Linked DNA regions of Homo sapiens: region 1 is linked to region 2. The links are contacts of gene promoters, found by promoter capture Hi-C in blood cells and fetal thymus (Javierre and others, 2016). All regions are on one chromosome and are shown on one strand. Each heading gives the region's core, a stretch centred on a gene start or on the middle of the fragment in contact. The rest is flanking DNA. Distances are from core to core; before and after follow the strand shown.

Region 1 (5,049 bases), core at 1,454-3,953, 1.6 Mb after region 2:
GTGATCTCCAAATAGAGCCAACTTAAAATGGGTAATGGGTTGAAAAGCCAAAGAGATCCAGAAGACAGTAGTTAGAAAAATTCCCAAGTCAATCAGTGTCCAACTATATTCTGGCTTTACTATGGGCCTGTAGGAGTTTCAGATATTTTAAACTACAGAAAGTAAAATGGATCATATCTACCTTCATGAATTATTTTATTACAACTTTATTAGTCTGGGCTGTAGATGATATCAAACGTAATTGAATTTTCTGAGTGGTTGAGGAGTTTACCAAAGGGAGCCTTTTCAGTGGAATGGTCAGGGATGAGGGAAAAATGAGTAATAAAGAACACTGGAATTTGTATTGGAGGGGTGCTGTTACCAGCCCCAGGTCTGAAGGAGTGAAGGCAGGGAGCTGTTACTAGGACCTGGAAGAAAGCTTTATGGAGGGGGTTATCCAATAGGCTGTAACTTCTCAGGGAGAGAGCCAGAGGAATATAAATCCCAACATTTTCCCCTCACCCACATCCTCTTGATGGTGCCTCCCATTGGGTGAACCCGGTCAGAGTGGCTGAACCCAATCAGAAGCCAGAGGGCAAGGGGACCCCTCAATTTAGTCTACAGGGCAGCCATCTGAGGTCCAGATGTTGGAGGGATGGTGAGGCCAGGAGAGGAAGAGAAGTGAGCCAAAAGGAGAATGGGTGGAGTGAGGTTGGGGACATCAAAGGGCAACTGATCACATGGGACCTTGCAGGCCACTCCGGAGACCTTTAATTTTACTCTGAATGAAAGTACCATCACAAGGGTGTGAGCAAGAGCAGTGATATGTTCTGACTTACATTTTATATGGCTTGCTTTGGCTGCCATGTTGTGTGGGAGGGGAAGCAGGGAGGGTTTGCAGTACCCTGGCAAGATAGTGCAGAGTACCAAGGAGAGAGTGAGAAATGGCCAGATTTTGAATAGGCTTTGAAGGGGGAATCAGGATTTCCTGATAGATTCAATGTGGAGTTTGTGAGAGAAGTCAAAGATCGCTGCGTTAGTTTTGGGCTGAGGATCTGTAAGGTGAGCCTGCCATGAGGTGAGATGGGAAGGCTGCAGTGGAGTTGAATTTGGGGGAATAGAATTGTGGGGACCTAGCCAGGTACTAGGAGTAGGTTAAAAACTCAGAAGGCATTGTGTGCATTGAGAGTAATGGGAAGACAGCCCTTGAACAACGGAATCCTTAGGCCTCTGGTGACCTCTAGTGGACAAATGTATTCTTAACTTGCCGGGCATTCTAGCTCAAAAGTACACTCTTGAAAATGCTTATGTTACTTAGGCATTAGTTTTCTTTTGAACCAAGTGAGAGTAAGTCATGCAGCTATTTCTTTTCTACCCATGGTGGATGGGAAATCTTATCAGATTCAGCATTTGAAGGCTAGGGGTGCAAAACACGTTGAGTAGGAGGTTGACAGTTACCTGTTACCTAGACACTTTGAAGTGTTCATTGTGTCAGGAGTGCCGGGGGTAGGAAAGAGGTTTGGAAATGAAATTCTGAGAATTGGGAAGGAATCAGCTGAGCTGGAGTGGTCACTTGTCGGTGTGAGGAGTATGAGAGTGGAGAGTGGAATGAAGTTGGGAGAACAGGTGGCATCAGGAGAAATGTCAGTGGTTTGTCACATACTTAACACCTTTCCAGATCAAGTAAGTAGGCGTCACTAGTGCTTGTTAATTTCCCCCAACCAACTTTCTTTATATTCCATCACCAAAGCCAGAATTCTGGAGTGGGTCTGCAGCTTCATCAGGATGGGCAACAAGTCTTATGAATTATTTCCCCCAAAGACCCTCTTGATTTCTCCCTTCTCCATTCCCATTCCCACTGCTCAGACTCTCACTGTTGGTTGTTTGGACTACTTCGAGCCTCTTCATTGATATCCCGGCCTTTCATCTTTCAAGCTTTCCAGCTAATCATACTGTTATATTTCCGCTTAAAACTTTTTACAGGGACTTCCTGTCTTTCAGGATGAAATCCCACAAGGCTGATCACAACTGGTCCTGCCTTCTCCCCTCCCACATGCTGTTGCCCTCAGTCCATACTCCAGGAACACTGAACATGTAGTTTCCTGAGTGCATCTTTGCAAAGCTGTCTATCTGTCTGTTTTTCTCTACACCTCCACCCCACACACTGTTCTCGAGATGTTTTCTTTTTTCCTATGTCTGTGTAAGTGCCACCTCCTGTAAGATTTTTTCTGCTATCTTTCTCCTCCCCAAAAGTTGGGTTCTCCATTTTCAGAATTATCACAATTTGTGCCTAATTCCCTTAGCATGTCTCTCCCTCTGTTGTAATTATAGGTTACGTGTTTATTTTCTCAGTTTCAAAGCTGCCCAGGACCAGGTCTTATTCATGATTGTAGCTCCAGAGCCTGACACAGGGATAGAATAAGCACTCAGTAAGGGAGTTTTAGATGAATTAACAAACCTGTGGTAGAATAAGCACTCAGTAACGGAGTTTCAGATGAATGAACTGTGTAGATGACACAAGCTCTGTAGGGAAGGAACCATCAGAGCACTAAAGGAATTAGGAGGGAGAGATTGTAAATAAAAACTTCTGTTTCTAGGAAGCACTCTGGTCCTTATCACTACATTTCTGTCTCTTAAAAGGCTTTCTTGAAGCATAGTATGGAGTAATATAGAAAAGTGAACATCTCATAAATACAGTTTGATGGAGTTTTACAAGCTGCACACCCATGTCATCAATGCCCAGATAGATAAATGGAACATGACCAGTACCCCAGGAAGCCCTCTTCCTGCTCCTTCCAGTCGCTGTTCTCTTCTCCCACTACCAATATTAATCGTTAGCCTTACTTTTGATTCTCATAGATTTGTTTTGTCTGATTTTGAACATCATATTAAAGGAATATTTCAGAGTATAATCTTGTGTCTGGCTTTAGCTCAACATTATTCTGTGAGATTCAACCATTGTTACTGATGGTTATAGATGAGTCATTCTCACTGCTATACCCCACTTCATTATGTAGTATGCCACAATTATCTATTTTGCTGATGAGCATTTGGGAGGCTCCAATTTTGGCCATAATGAACAGTGCTGCTATGAATTTTCTTGCACATGTCTTGTGATGAACCTAAGTATGCATTTCTGTTGGTTATAGACCCAGAATGGAATTGCTGACCCATAGCATATGGATATATTGAACATTAGTAGGTACTAACAGTTTTTCCAAGGTGGTCATTTCAGTTTAAATTCCCCTTGGCACATATGAGAGTTCTGATTGTTTCACATCTTTGTCGAGACTTGGTATTTTTTTCTTTTTTAGCCATCCCTTCATGTTTGTGGTGGTGTCTCATCATACTTTTTGCCATTAAAAGTGTTTTGCTACGAAAAATACTTCCCCATTAAAACAATTTCACCATTAAAAAATATTTCGCCATTAAAAGATATTTCGCCATTAAAAATATTTCACCATTAAAAAAAAATTTTGTCATTAAAAAATTTCACCATTAAAAAAAGCTTAAGGTCAAGTATTCTTATCTTAGAAATGTTTTATTTCTCTAGTTGGTTAAAATATTTCTGACTCTTGAATGGAAGATGATCTTCAGTCTTTAAGGTGACTGAAATGGAAAAATAATTCATTCAGTTATCTATCTTGTTACATTGACTTTGCTTTAAATTCTAGGCATATTTTGCTTTGAAAAATAATAGAAATAAAGAAAGGCATAAACCTGGAGACCTTCACCCAATGAAAAAATAAAGTCAACACTGTGTATACCATTTCTAAGAATAAATTGAGCGCCAGCTTTAAAATAATAAAGATATTAAACTATAGTATATATAATTTAACAGATACAGGATTATTGTTTCCACTTAACACTCTTCACTGGCTTGTGATTAATTTTTTTTTTGCTTGTTTTTGTTAAGAATGTGTAAATCTTCTTGAGCAAAAGATTTATGATATAGGGAAAATGTTCATAGCTATTTATAATTTGGGTCCACATTTCAATGAGCATGTTAATCTCTCTTTTAAATACCAGAATGCCCCTCTCTCCTTTTTAGAAGTGAAAGAGCTTCTCCATCCAAATCTTCATTTTGGGTCAGTATATTGTCACTGCATTTATGTGTTCCTTCAAAGCATAGGACAAGAACCAATTCATCTCTTTGCTTATCTTCTAACTCAGAATCACTCTGCAGCCGTGAAAATAACAAAAGGTGCGGGGTAAAACTGTAGGGTTGACATGGGTGTGAATATTGGCTGTATGTCCCTTACTGCCCAAGACCTTGCCCTGTGCATGCCCCGCTCCCACAAAAAAATAACTTAAACTTCTTGACTTTTAGTTTCCTCAACTGTAAAATAAAAGGATAGCTACCTTGCAAAAGTTTTGGGGTTATGGGAGACTAAGAATGTGGATCAAATGCCTATAAGAAAGGATTTATTTTTCTTTAAATTAACAAAGTTTTATCTCTTTAAAAAGATGTAATAGTGTTCTGTCAGATGCTCTTTGGTAAGCTCCCTTCATTTTCCTTCTAGGGTTGACAATTTTGGTTTGGGGCTTTTGCTTCGGTCCAAGCAGATAAAACGCATGGTCTCTTCATATGTGGGAGAAAATGCAGAATTTGAACGACAGTACTTATCTGGTGAATTAGAAGTGGAGCTGACACCACAGGTGAGAAAATTTGCTTTTCTTTTATAATACTAACTTACTTTAAAAATTCCTTTTTTCTCCGTGGAAATTTCTTTGTGCAAAAGAGGTAAGGCAGAAGGAATAGTACTTTGCCAAACCAGGGAATTTTGTTTCTAACTCACACCTGTTGATTGCTGGAGGATTAATATTTTCTTCTACTGTGTACTGAAAAAAGAGATATTTCTAAAAGATATCCAGGCTGCAAGATAAGATTTTAAGTTTGGCACTGTAATGTGTATTGTGCCAGAAGCATACAAAAGGATTTGCTGGAATGTTTGAGAATCATCCTAAAAAGTTAATTTATAGGAATTTATTTTTATTTTTTTTTTTGAGGCAGAGTCTTACTGTGTCACCCAGGGTGGAGTGCGGCGGTGTGATCTCGGCTCACTGCAA
Region 2 (5,369 bases), core at 905-3,404:
ATTATAAGCTTGTCTATTAAGAAAGAACAAAACCAAATATCTATAATGACGTCAAGATTACACCAAACACAACCAGAAATGTTCTAATTTTCTGATTTCTATAAAAGACCTGGCTCTTCAAATAAACGGGAAGCAGTAACAGAGAAAACGAGAAAAATGGGGAGAAGAGTGTAGATCAGGAATGATAATGTCACTAAGTTAAAGGGGCACAATGCCTTTTTTTTTTTTTAGTTCCTCTGACACTGGATTCCTTCACATTTCAATTCTCAAACAAGTACCATTTCCTCAAAAGGGCCTTCCTTACTACCTGACTAAAGTTAGCATCTCCCAAGTCTATTACATCACCCTATTTACTTCCTTTATAGTACTTATTACAATCTGTCTAGCTTGTTTCCTTGTGGCTCACACCCTCCACTAGAACTTGAGCTCCATAGTCATTCTGTAGCACACTGAGAGCACTCTGTTTGTATAAATGAATCAGTAAGCTGGGCACAGTGGCTCACGCCTGTAATCCCAACACTTTGAGAAGCCAAGGAGGGGGGAACACTTGAGCCCAGGACTTTAACACCAGCCTGGGCAACATAGCGAGATGCCCATCTCTACAAAAAACTTAATTACCTGCACGATGGCATGTGCCTGTGGTCCCAGCTACTCCAGAGGCTGAGGCCGGAGAATCCCTTGAGCCCAGGAGGTCAAGGCTGCAGTGAGCTATGATTGCACCACTGCACTCCAGCCTGGGTGACAGAGGGAGACCCTGTCTCAAAAAAAAAAAAAAAAAAAAAAGGAATAAACATCTACAGGCAGTAGACCGACTACAGAGAAAAGAACTACTATTACATTGTTTGGGTTTGCATGAAGCCATCTATGTTGTTCCTCAATAGCTCCATAAAGCCTAGATTATAAGACTTTGTACCACACTGCCAAAAGGGTAATGCCAAATTATTACTGCATTCAGAAGGAGAAAATTTGTCCTTAACATGGCTAAAAGCACTCAAAATTATAAATACATTTGCTGAAAGATACTTTAAATTCTCATTTAAGGTGTGTGGGAGTTAAAAGGTGTTTAATTTTCCCTGTCAGTTGGGTGTTTTACATTGGCTAAGAACCAAGACTGTGACAAGAAATGAGTTCTATGATTGAGAAACTCTAAGATTCTGGGGGTGGCCTAGGAGTTTACTTTGAGATTGAAATTTATTTTCTATGGTCAACTGTATAATTACGATGATACCACCCCTTGCTTTCCATCTGACACTTGGTTTGAGAAACTGTAGGTAGGAAAGGGAAAGAAGAATGTCCCTCCTTGGGCCTCTTCTTTTGGGCCTGTGCTTCCTAGAGTCAAATGTCAAGCTGGTATTTCCTTGGTGCTAAGAGCAACCACCACTCTGAGGCAGAGACGGGATGGGACCTAGCCAAAGTCCCAGTAAACAAACTGTATCTTGTAAGCGCAATTTAATTAGGGTCAAACTATTCTGTATGGACTTGCTTTTTCGACTTCTGAGGATTTAGTAGTCATGATTAAGTGCTGTCACGCTACTGCGATCTACAAACAGTAGCTCCACAACATCCGCCCGCATCGTGGCAAAGAATTATCAAGAAATCCCCAAGGGGGCGGTGAGGAGCCGCCGGTCGGCCAGGTCGCCCGGTCCCTCAGTCTGGTGAAAAGCTCCGTTGCCCACCCTGAGGGCTTCGCGGAAGGAAGTTGGCCGTATCGCTGCACCTTAGAGATGCGACGGCCGAGGCTCCCAGCTCAAGCTTCTGGTAGTAAGGCCTGTGTGCCTGGCATTCGGGGAGGCCACTTTTCTATCCCCAGCTTCCGGGCCACCACTTGGGTGCGTCGTGGGGATGTCGGCAGCTACGTTTGCGGCACAGCTCCGGCTAAACTGAAAAACGAATCCTCAGGTTTGACAAAACTAAACTAAAAAGACACTTTTCTCCTCTCACTCTGACGTCCCAAAAGTTTCCTTTTTAGGGGTCGGGGCCTACGGTGGGCGAGGAGAAACTCGAGGTATCTACCCACCGCACCAAACAACTCATGCGTCGCTTCCTTTCGACTTGGAGCTGGCCAGTATCCCGGCGTCCTCTCGGCCGACGCTGCGGTCTGAGGCCACTCTGGCCGGCAGCCGACGTCTCTATGGCTCCGACCGAGGGGCGGAGCCGCTGCTCGAGCTGCTGCTGGATTGAACTCAGAGAAGCCGGGGTGGGTATGGCTGAGCCGCTGCGTGGGACTGAGGGGAGGGGGCCGGGTGGACGCCGCGGAACTGCGTCCTGAGGTGGGAGACCGGAGGTGGGGGACCACTGAGTCTGATGTCTGGAGGGTCCGGTTGCGGGTCGGAGGGCGTGCTGGAACAGCCGCCACGCGGGAGCCAGGAGCCTCCTGGGTGCGTGTGACCCACGAGCCGGCACCGTCCCGCGGCCCTGGGGTCTGCGAGGAGCCCTGGCGCCGCCCTCCGGCTTCGCGCTTTTTCTAGATCCCTAGAACCCCAGCCCTCCGCCTACGCTCCGCGCCCCTGGCCTTTTTCTGGCCCAGGGTGGGGTTCCGGGAGTCGTGCCGAAGGAGCCCATTGCCGTCCTTAACCGGTTGTAAGAGCCTTTCGTGCCCCGGAGCCTTTGAGGCTTGAATGCTGAGAGTGTGACATGGTCCTTTCCCTGCAGCCTGGCCCATTTTTTTAAATGACATTTGAAAAATTATTGCATCACACCAGACTCAGAAAAGGATGTCTGGGAACTTCTGAGGCTTGAAACATGTTGAAATACAGAATTTTGTTTTATTCGTAATGGGCATAGGAACTAAACATTTTAAGTGCAGACATCTGATGGCTATAAAAAGTTTCAGTGAAAGTAAGCAAGATTTGTGTTTCCTTTGTCAGTTAGTTGCATCAGATTTGGCATCTGCTTTTGATATTTTTCCATTAAAGAAATTAAATATATTAAGTTTACAGCAACTACAGTTCAGTGAAGAAGACTTACTGGTAAAGCATAATAAAGGCGGTTTCTGGAATTTGGACCGTGTTTTGACCTTGGGTTTTTGCATATAATGTGTAAGGTTGGTGGGGAAGAGGGAAAGTTAAAACAGATGACACTTACTTAGAGAATGTATCAGCTCTTATTTGTTTTGACAGAAATAATGTCTAAGAGATTATTAGCAAACAATACATGATAGCGTATAATTAAAGTGACCAGCTAATTATATGTTTGTGGAATTCAGGAAGGAGAAAAGTACTGTTATGTATACTCTGAAGGCCCCAAAGTTAGTGGTATTTGCTATAAGGGGGATGGGGTGTGACAAAGTTTGGCCATTGCAGAAAATGGCTTCTGCGAGTCATAGGGAGGAATTTATAATATGTCAGTTATGTCAGAGAAGCTATCCCAAACAGTATCTTTAGTTCATAGGCTGCGGATTTATTATGTGATTATCTCTTGTATTAGTAAAATGGAATATTTATTAAATACCTTGAGCACACTGGATTTTTAAACATGACAAGTTTAAAAGAGATCACTACTCTTAAGGAACCTTATCAACAAAAGTGAATATGTAAAAGGAGGTTCGGGAGTCCGTTTTATTTGTAGGGGGAGGAATAGGAAGTGGAAAAGGAAATAAAAAGTTTAAGAAGAAAAATGGGTACCCTTAGGTGTATTATTCAGAGACAATAAGTAATACAGGAAGAACACTTAGTAAATTTCTCTTTTTCTAATACTCAGACTCTGAGCCAGATGTTAAATATCTGCACCAAAAGTTGGAGTAGAATAGATGCCAGAAATGTGGGGTTCTGGAACTGCAATTATACCTTCCTTAAAAATAGAAATAGTTCTCTTCTACGTATCTATTGTGTAATAAATTACACCAAAACTTAGAGGCTTAAAACAGTAGACAGTAGGGGCCAGGCGCCGTGGCTCACGCCCGTAATCCCAGCACTTTGGGAGGCCGAGGCGGGCGGATCACGAGATCAGGAGATCGAGACCATCCTGGCTAACACGGGTGAAACCCCGTCTCTGCTAAAAATACAAGAAATTAGCCGGGCGTGGTGGCGGGCGCCTGTAGTCCCAGCTATTCGGGAGGCTGAGGCAGGAGAATGGCGTGAACCCGGGAGGGGGAGCTTGCAGTGAGCCGAGATCATGCCACTGCACTCCAGCCTGGGTGACAGAGCGAGGAACCATCTCACACAAAACACAAACAAACAAAAAACAGTAGACAATAATTTTATTCTTTCTGTGGGGTCAAGACTTAGCTGGCGGTTCTGGCCCAGGGTCTCATGAAGTTGCAGTCAGGATGTCGGCAGTGGCTGCGGACATCTGAAGGGTTGACTGGGGCTGAAGGATCTGCTTCCAAGTTCACTGTGAGCTTTTTCCTTCCTCTTTCATCAGCAAGCTGTTTTGTACTTTCCATTGGTAAAATGCATTCGCATTATACCCATTATATATAATATATGTGTTCCTATTCGTAAACCGTGATACAGTTTTTTGTAAACAGTAAATTTTGCTTGTTGAGGTCGCTTTAAATTTGGATCATCATGTAAATACTTCAAGTAATCTTTTGATTTTTCACTTTGCTCACGACACTTTATTAGCAAACTAATCCTTTTAAAATCTGAACTCATCATGTAAAATGTAGAGTTAGTAGGTTCGGTGTGGTAGTTTCTGCCTGTAGTCCCAGCACTTTGGGAGGCCAAAGTGGAAGGATCACTTGAGGCCAGGAGCTGAAGACCAGCCCGGGCAACACAATGAGACCCCATCTCTACAAAACACTTTAAAAACAAAAATCTAGCCAAGTATAGTTGTGCATTTCTGTAGTCCTAGCTACTCAGGAGGCTGAAGCAGGAGCCCATGAGTTCAAGGTTACAGTGAGCTATGATCGTGCCACTACACTTCAGCTTGGGCAACAGAGATACCTTGTCAAAAAAAAAAAAAAAAAAAAGTAAGCCGGGCGCAGTGGCTCACGCCTGTAATCCTAGCACTTTGGGAGGCCGAGGCGGGCGGATCACGAAGTCAGGAGATCGAGACCATCCTGGCTAACATGGTGAAACCCCGTCTCTAGTAAAAATACAAAAAATTAGCTGAGCGTGGTGGCGGGCACCTGTAGTCCCAGCTACTCGGGAGGCTGAGAGGCAGGAGAGTGGCATGAACCCGGGAGGCAGAGCTTGCAGTGAGCCGAGATCGCGCCACTGCACTCCAGCCTGGTCGACAGAGCAAGACTCCGTCTCAAAAAAAAAAAAAAAAAAAAAAAGTAAGATTATTAACATTTAAATATATATTGTGATTATTAAAAATTGCTTCATGAGTGAAAGAAAATATAATGCACTGGCTTTATAAGGACATCATGAAATTTGCAGTTAAGTGGATATTGGCTTTTTATTTTTGTCTTCCTTCTGGAA

What was found. Contacts are between HindIII fragments. The CHiCAGO score rates a contact against its expected background, and 5 or more counts as called.
Region 1: a contact is called between a fragment that was not itself captured here and the fragment with the promoter of TMEM267 in region 2, in 1 of 17 cell types (total CD8 T cells). The highest score is 6.7, in total CD8 T cells.

What each region holds. Positions count from the first base shown.
Region 1 is chr5:41,853,008-41,858,056 of GRCh38, reverse strand. OXCT1 (3-oxoacid CoA-transferase 1) reads left to right here. Exons shown (of 17, transcript NM_000436.4): 4 at 4,503-4,638. Among named protein-coding and RNA genes, the nearest start is that of OXCT1-AS1, 14 kb to the left of the region's middle. The HindIII fragment of the contact is 1,573 bases long and covers 1,917-3,489 here.
Region 2 is chr5:43,480,650-43,486,018 of GRCh38, reverse strand. TMEM267 (transmembrane protein 267) reads left to right here and starts at 2,154. Exons shown (of 3, transcript NM_022483.5): 1 at 2,154-2,197. C5orf34-AS1 (C5orf34 antisense RNA 1) reads right to left here and starts at 2,100. Exons shown (of 3, transcript XR_007058763.1): 1 at 2,018-2,100. RefSeq lists enhancers at 1,825-2,014, 1,280-2,123 and a silencer at 2,069-2,299. The HindIII fragment of the contact is 3,795 bases long and covers 1,755-5,369 here.